2 separate regions of the Homo sapiens genome follow, and region 2 is linked to region 1. The links are contacts of gene promoters, found by promoter capture Hi-C in human tissues and cell types (Jung and others, 2019). All regions are on one chromosome and are shown on one strand. Each heading gives the region's core, a stretch centred on a gene start or on the middle of the fragment in contact. The rest is flanking DNA. Distances are from core to core; before and after follow the strand shown.

What was found. The method cuts DNA at HindIII sites, captures the fragments that hold promoters and counts their contacts. A contact is called where the count stands out against the background at its distance.
Region 2: a fragment that was not itself captured here is called in contact with the fragment with the promoter of GABRD in region 1 in 1 of the 25 tissues and cell types used here (dorsolateral prefrontal cortex).

Annotation. Positions count from the first base shown.
Region 1 is chr1:2,017,846-2,021,712 of GRCh38, forward strand. It overlaps GABRD (gamma-aminobutyric acid type A receptor subunit delta), which reads left to right and starts at 1,500. Exons shown (of 9, transcript NM_000815.5): 1 at 1,500-1,646. The coding sequence starts at 1,579. It overlaps LOC105378589 (a long non-coding RNA gene), which reads right to left and starts at 243. Exons shown (of 2, transcript XR_001737844.3): 1 at 1-243. RefSeq lists enhancers at 516-1,094, 1,095-1,672. The HindIII fragment of the contact is 31,331 bases long and covers 1-3,867 here.
Region 2 is chr1:2,077,990-2,081,373 of GRCh38, forward strand. The region is part of intron 4 of PRKCZ (protein kinase C zeta); the gene reads left to right. Among named protein-coding and RNA genes, the nearest start is that of PRKCZ, 29 kb to the left of the region's middle. The HindIII fragment of the contact is 6,733 bases long and covers 1-3,384 here.

The sequences.
Region 1 (3,867 bases), core at 250-2,749:
TAAATTAATCCATGGAAGGGACACGTGGGAAGGGGCACGTGTGCAGAGCACAGGCTCGGACAGGAACCCCGGGAACACAGGGAGGTCAGTGCTTCTGTACCCAAAGGACCCCTCTCGGCAGGGGCCAGTGAGCAGCCGGGAAGGGGGCCTTGGAGTTGAGACCTGTTGGGCTTGTTAGAGCCCCGTTCCTTGATTTAAGAAAGCAGGCTAGGGCTGGGTGCAGTGGCTCACGCCTGTAATCCCAGCACTTTGGGAGGCCGAGGCGGGCGGATCACGGGGTCAGGAGTTCGAGACCAGCCTGGCCAACATGGTGAAATTCCGTCTGTACTAAAGATACAAAAAAATAACCGAGCGTGGTGGCAGGTGCCTGTAATCCCACCTACTCGGGAAGCTGTGGCAGGAGACTTGCTTGAACCTGGGAGGCAGAAGTTGCAGTGAGCCGAGATTGTGCTCCAGCCTGGGTAACAGAGCCAGATTCCATCTCGAAAAATAACATAACATAACATAACATAACATAACATAACATAACATAACATAACATAACATAAATAAAGCAAGCAAACTGGAACCAGCCTCATTCTTCCACTTCCCACAGTAGGGATTGGGCTGGAAATTCCGAAGCAAATCCCTCTCTGCACTTTCCTCCACCTGCCCCTGTGCGGCCAGGGCCCTTCATCCAGAAGCACGCAGCCTCGGGGACAGCTTCGCCATTTTTAAGTGTTTTCACGAGGGGTTGACACTGTGCTGTCAGCGACATCGCGAGCCCAGAAGTGAATAACTGACACAACAATGATTAAAGTTTGTGAGCAGCTTCAGGAAATGGCAGCGCAACTTTATGTTCAAAAGATCCAAGGCAGGAGAGTGTGAGGCCTTCCCTTTCCCAGATCCTAGGGGTGTGGAGGGCGGGCCTGGGGCCATGAGAGGTGTGGAGAGTCAGAACTGCGGCCTGCGGCGCAGCCCCCACCTGCTTTTCCTCTCCCCGCCCCCGTCGAGGGTCCCCAGGGATCAGGACTTGCTCCCAAAGTCGCCTGGCCCCAGCTCCCGCGAAGGCAGGAGGGTTTTGGAAGCAGCCGCTGGTGGGGGTCTCTCTCCTGACAGCTGCAGGGACTGGCCCCCTCCCCACCCACCGCCGGCGCAGCCAGAAGCAGCCACGCAGACGTGCGACCCCCCACAAACCGCCTCGGGACGAGGTTCTGCCGCGCCCGTGGGCCACAGTGTCCACGCGGGGCTTGTGCCGGTGTCGCCTCCCATGAAGACACCCGGAGGGTCCCGTCTGCGGCGCGTGAGGGCAGCGGTCCCGGAGAGCCAGACCCCGGCCAGGGAGAGCTGCCCGCGAGGGAGGGGGCGCGGCTGGCGGAGGGGGGCGGGATGGGGCGGGGGGCGGGGGGAGGAGAGGGGAGCGGCGGGCGGGGCCGGGCTGCAGGGAGCGGCGGGCTGGGGCGGGCTCGGGGCGGGCTCCGCGCTCCGTCCGCCCCCTCGCGCCCGCGCCGCGCTCGCTCAGCTCCCGCCCGCCTGTGCCGCCTGTGCGGCCGCCGGGAGCCAAGTTTGCGCGGACCCCGTCCCGAGCCCGCCGCGGCCATGGACGCGCCCGCCCGGCTGCTGGCCCCGCTCCTGCTCCTCTGCGCGCAGCAGCTCCGCGGCACCAGGTGAGCGGGCGGGGTCCGCGCGGCGCGGGGTCGGGGGCGGTGGGGGGCCCGCGTCGGCCCGAGATAGCGGCTGGGAGAGCGGCCGGCGCGAGCCCCGGGCCCCGGACCCCAAGTCTGAGAGCCCCGCGTCCTCCCTCCCCGGGGTCTTGCCCCGCGGGCCCCTCGTTGGACTCGCCCGGACGCTGCCCTTGGGCTCGGGACGCGGCGACCCCCGCGCTGGCCGCCCCCGCCCGGTGCTGTCCGCCGTCCTGGTGCTGAACCTGGGCTGGGCGAGGGCGTCGGAGCCTCCCGGTTCCCCTGCTCCGCGGCGCGCGTGGAGGGTCCCCGGGTCCGCGGCACTCGCGGGTCCCTGCCCGGCGGGTGCCTTGAGGAGAGGAAAGACCTGAGAACTCGGTGCGGGGAGGCTGCTCCCTTTGCGGGGGAGCCGTTCCCCGTTCCCCCAGTGAGCTTCCCCAGCCGGAGGGTCTGGGACGGACGGAGGAGGCTGTCTCGCTGTGGAGGGTGGGCCCGGCCTCCGGGGTCTCCTTTCAGAGTCCGTTTCAAATGGCGTGGGCAGAACTCCTGAGTGTGTGCAGGTGGACGGCGGCCAGGTGCCCCTGGCCACAGAAAAGAGATGGTGGATTTCTTAACTATTTTGGGAGGGACTCCCCAGAGAAGGAAGAGGCTGAGAAGGAGGCCCCCCGGGGCTGGAGCCCCCTCTGGCCTACAGTGCCCCCCCATCTCCTCTCTGGGGATCTGAAATGGGCTCCTCAGCCACCCAGGCAACTTGGCCCCACCACGGGGCCTGGCTGGCCGCCTTCCCTAGGAGTCACGAGAGGACATTTAGGGGCGTCTTTGAAAATCACCTCAGTGCAAAGACTGCAGAAGAAACAGCAAAGAGCCATCCCCCAGCATTCAGGATCTCAGAGACCGTGAAGATGTAGATATAGAGGTGGCTGACCGTAGTAGAGATGGCAGCACCCAACACGGGGCGGTGTGTCAGAGTTTTCCCATTGGAGGTGCGGGGGACAGAGCCCAGAAGGCCTGGGTCCAGCTGCAGCCGTGTGCCCATCAGGAGACCGCGGGGTCGGCACTGCCCCTGGCTCTAAGCAGCCCGTGTCCTGGGAAGAGCTTTGTTCTTCCATCAATCCCAGTGGGCCTTTCTCCCTTTGTCCTTCCCCTCCTTCAAGGTGAGAGGAAGGACGAAGCTCGGGGCACAGTTGTGGATGCTGTGCTGGAGCCATGGGGACAGCTGCCAGCCCAGGCCCACGGCCACTTAGCCAAGAGGCTGAAATCCAGACGGCTCTGAAACCCCAAAGTTTTAGCCCAAGTTCGACACCAGAATTCAGTTGGCAGCAAGTCCCGTCCCGCATGGACGTGAGACTCTTCTCATCTTTATTAATCCTACTTCTGGGATTATTTATATACACTTCCTGCTGGGAAATTCTTCAGGCCGCCCCCAGCCACAGCCTCTGTGTCCACCATTTCCCTGCTCTAAAATCTGAAGATCCTTAATCCTGGCCTGCATCTGGCTCCTGGGCTGACGGGGAAGGGATTCTGTGCCTGTTTCCTTGGGCAGGAAAGCTGGAAGGCCACGGCCCAGCCAGGAGTGGGGGGCCTCTGGGCCTGCAGTCACTCCCATCCCTGGAAGAGGGGTGCCGTTGGGGAGGACACCTTGCCTGGTGAGAGGTGCACTGCTTTGCTCAGCTCCCCTTTCGCTCTCTAGTTAAAAACAGTTACCACCTGGCTGCATGCTGCAGCCTCTCCTTTGAGGTCATCCTGTCCACACACATGTGCTGGGCTCAACCTCCTGCTCTTGGCGTCTAGGGGCAGGCCTGGAGGGTCTCCCCAGGGTGGAAGCACCTGCCAACTCAGCCCTAGGGGCCACCTTCAGACTTAGCGGGGTGCTGTCCATGAAGGGCCTCTCTGTATCTGTGCCCCTACACTCCAGAAACCAGGACAGCCGCCCTCCCTTCCCTCAGTCTCGGGGTCCTTGTCCTGGAGCTGTATTGGACGTCAGTGGGACCCATTCTGGCCATTACCCCAGGTCCCCATTGCAGCAGCTCCTCATGGGAAAGGCTGGGTGGGATAGGAAGGGAGTGTGCTGCGTGGCGGCCGTGGGTCGGCCCGGAGTGTGAAGACCCGTGCACGCGGCAGGCACCGAGCTTGCCGACTGCATGCCCGCGTGGGTGGCCCTCCCGGGCTGCCGGCACCTCCGTCTCCCTGGAGAAGCTGTGCTGCG
Region 2 (3,384 bases), core at 735-3,234, 61 kb after region 1:
ATTGTGATTGTTTAAATCAGTTTCCTAGATGTCTTGTCTCAAATTTACTCCAGTTTCCTCTTCCCAGAAGAGGGGCAGCTCCCACCGATGCCTGCCTCACCTCCCTCCTGGTGCACCTGGCCCCCCACACAACATGCCGTGGGGCTTCCCTGTGCCCCGAGCTGGGAACAGTCCCCTCCTCTCTCCTCTGCCTACAGTCTTGATCTCTGGCTCCCTCTCTTCCTCTTTCTTGGCTTAATGTCCGGTTAAGACCCTCCAGCAGCTGTCTGAGAAAGATGGCGTGGGAGGCCAGTTTGGGGGATCTAGTTGGAAAATGCTTTTCCTCCAGCCACACACTTAAGGATAGTTTAGCTAGGTATGAAATTCTGTATTGGAAAGAATTTTCCCTCTGCATTTCGAAGGGATCGCTCTACTGTCTTCTGGCTTCTTGTGTGACCGAGAAGTCAGGTGCCATTTTGATTTTGTGTGTTTTTCTCCTGAAAGTCTTGTAGAATCTTTTGTCTTCAGGGTTCTCAAGTTTCATGATAATGTTCCTTGTCGTGGAAACTTCTTTGTCTCTTGTGCTGGGAACTCGTGCTGTGGAACCTTGCGACATTTGGATGTGAGGAGCTTTACACCCAGTTATTTATCACATGGCCGACTCCCCGTCTCTGACTCTCTTTTAGAGTTAACGCTGATTATTTGTTGGCCCTCCCAGGCTGGTCCTTTAATTTTCTTCTCTATTTTCCATTTCTTTGTTTATGTTATATGCTAGGAGACATCTTCAGGTTTCTCTGTCCAAACCATCTGTTAAGTTTGTTAGTTTGTTGCCTTGTTCCCGTTCTTGTCTTTCGATCTTTTTTCTCTGAAGGTGGCTTTTTTTTTTTTTTTTGAGATGGAGTCTTGCTCTGTCGCCCAGGCTGGAGTGCAGTGGCGTGATTTCGGCTCACTGCAACCTCCACCTCCTGGGTTCAGGCCATTCTCCTGCCTCAGCCTCCTGAGTAGCTGGGACTACAGGCGCCCGCCACCACGCCCAGCTAATTTTTTGTAGTTTTAGTAGAGACGGGGTTTCACCGTGTTAGCCAGGATGGTCTCGATCTTCTGACCTTGTGATCCGCCCGCCTCGGCCTCCCAAAGTGCCGGGATTACAGGCGTGAGCCACTGCGCCCGGCCTGAAGGTGCCTTTTTAAGGCAGAGTGCCCTGCCCTTGTGTCAAAGGCATATCGCACTTTTTCTCTGGGGTTATTCGTCCCGGCTGAGAAGCACCGCGGTATCATGTGGTGATTGAGCAGCACCCAGCACATTCATGGCTGCGAGGCTTCCCGCGTGTGAACTCATTTAATCTTCTCAGTTCCTTGTGGGCACCATTGTTTTCTTTGTTCTGGGTAAAGATTAGCACTGAGGCACAGACAGGTCAAGAAATTTCCCAGAATCGCACAGTTTGAGCTGGGACTCAAACCCCAAGGGCTGGGCTTAAGCCCACGCTATTTGCCGCGTGCCCCAGGGCCTGAAGCTGCGTGGTCAGGCCCCAGCTCTGCTGCCCACCAGCCACGTGACCTCGGCCACAACGCTGTCCACCGTGTCCCGGACCCTCATAAGTGAGCGTGATGGTAAAAGGCTTGGCTCCCAAGGCTATCATGGGATTAGCCAGTAACTAAGCCACAACGCTGGCCCCGCGGCTGCTGCTGATGGCGGCACATGGTGGGAGCATGTGTGCTGGCAGCGGTTGGTGATAACGTCTCCTTTTGGTGTTTTCTTTGGCCTCGTACTCAGCTGTTTTCACCGAGAGTCCCTTTTTGTGTTTGTCCTGGCCTTTGCGGCTTCCTGGGCCCCTGGTGACCCGCATTTGTCTGCCCACATTGACTCGTGGGGCACCACAGAGCTGGTGGTGGCGGAAGTCCCCAGGGGAGTGTCCTGCCTGGGAGGGCCGGGCATCTCACCCCTAGTAAGGAGTCTGCTGCCCCCGCAAGCCCTCTCGTTCCCTGGCTGCTTTGGGTGAGGAAGGGGGTCTGGGGGTCGACTCCTCACTGACTGGGACCCTGCACAGCAGGTGCCCCACTTTCCTGCTACCTGGAGCCTCTGACTTGGGGCCCTTCTTTGGGGTTCGGCCCAGTACAGTCTCCTGGTGGCCACGGGGCCCTCTGCCTTCCAGGTCCCAGGGCATCCACTACCCGGCCTGTCCTCCTCTTTGCTGTTACGGGTTTTTTGGAGTTTTTCTTCCTTTGGTCTTGGGAGGGAGAGTCAGTCAGTGATGTGTTTGAGCTGCTGTGTCCACCTGGAAACCATCGTGATGACGCTTTCTGAAGGCTAAAGTATGCAGGAAAACCAGAGTTGGAGAAGGTCTTTAGGTAGGGGCAGTGCGCGTGGACGTGGCGGTGCGCGTGGACGTGGCAGGTGTGGACCAGCACGTCCCACTGCTCTGCATCCTGAGGGGCCGGAGGGTGTGGTGCAGGGTTTTAAGGAGGGCAAAGGCCCCTCTGTTTGTTTTTCCTTGATGCTGCCCCCCGTGCGACCTGGGGGCAGTTTTCAAATGCTTGACCCAGGTAGTTTAGTTCTGTCACCCCCTCGTTCAGTGGGGTGGTGGGAAGACCAGTTTTTGGAACAGTTTTGGATTTACAGAAAAATCAGGACAGGAGTAGAGCACAAGCATTCCCTCCCTGCTCCCTCCTGGTCAGCGTAATGCGTGAGTTACACTTCACCAGCCAGTCTCGGCACCTTTCCAGCTAAGGCTTTATTCCGCTTGCCTCAGTCTCCCCTCCTGCCCCCTTTCTGTCCCAGGATCCCGTCCAGGGCCCCACGTGGCACTTGGCCGTCACGTCTCCTTAGGTCCCTCTCACTGTGGCAGGTCTCTCAGACTTGCCTCATTTTCAACGACCTTCGTAGTTTTAAGGAGGGCTGGTCAGGTGTTTTGTGGGACAGCCCTTCGCTGGGGTTTGCCTCATGTTTTTCTCATAAGGACTGGGGCCTTGTGTTTTGGGAGGAGGTGAAGCCTCCTTATATCGCTGGGTCCAGGTCCACACCCTCCACGCAGCCTGTCCGTGCTGGCCTTGCGTGTCACCTGGCCGCGGTGTGTTTGTCGGCTCACACCTGCCCGTGCCTCTTCCCCCGTGCTGTCCTGTCTGCGGAGTGAGGCGTGCGTGGCCCACACCTAAGAGGTGAGGAGCTACATACGTGATGTCAAGTTTTGCACGGGACTTGTACGTCTGTTCTCCCATTGGTTATTTAATTATTCCTTTCTGTTCATGTGGACTCGCAGGTGTCAATTTCATACTTGGGTTAGAATCGGATACCGTGTCGCTTACTTATTGCTCAGATTGTTCCAGCTTTGGGCACTGGGGCCCCTGCAGGCTGGCTGTTGGGGCAGCGATGAGGCCAGACACTGGGTGGGTTGGGGGTGGGTGCTGA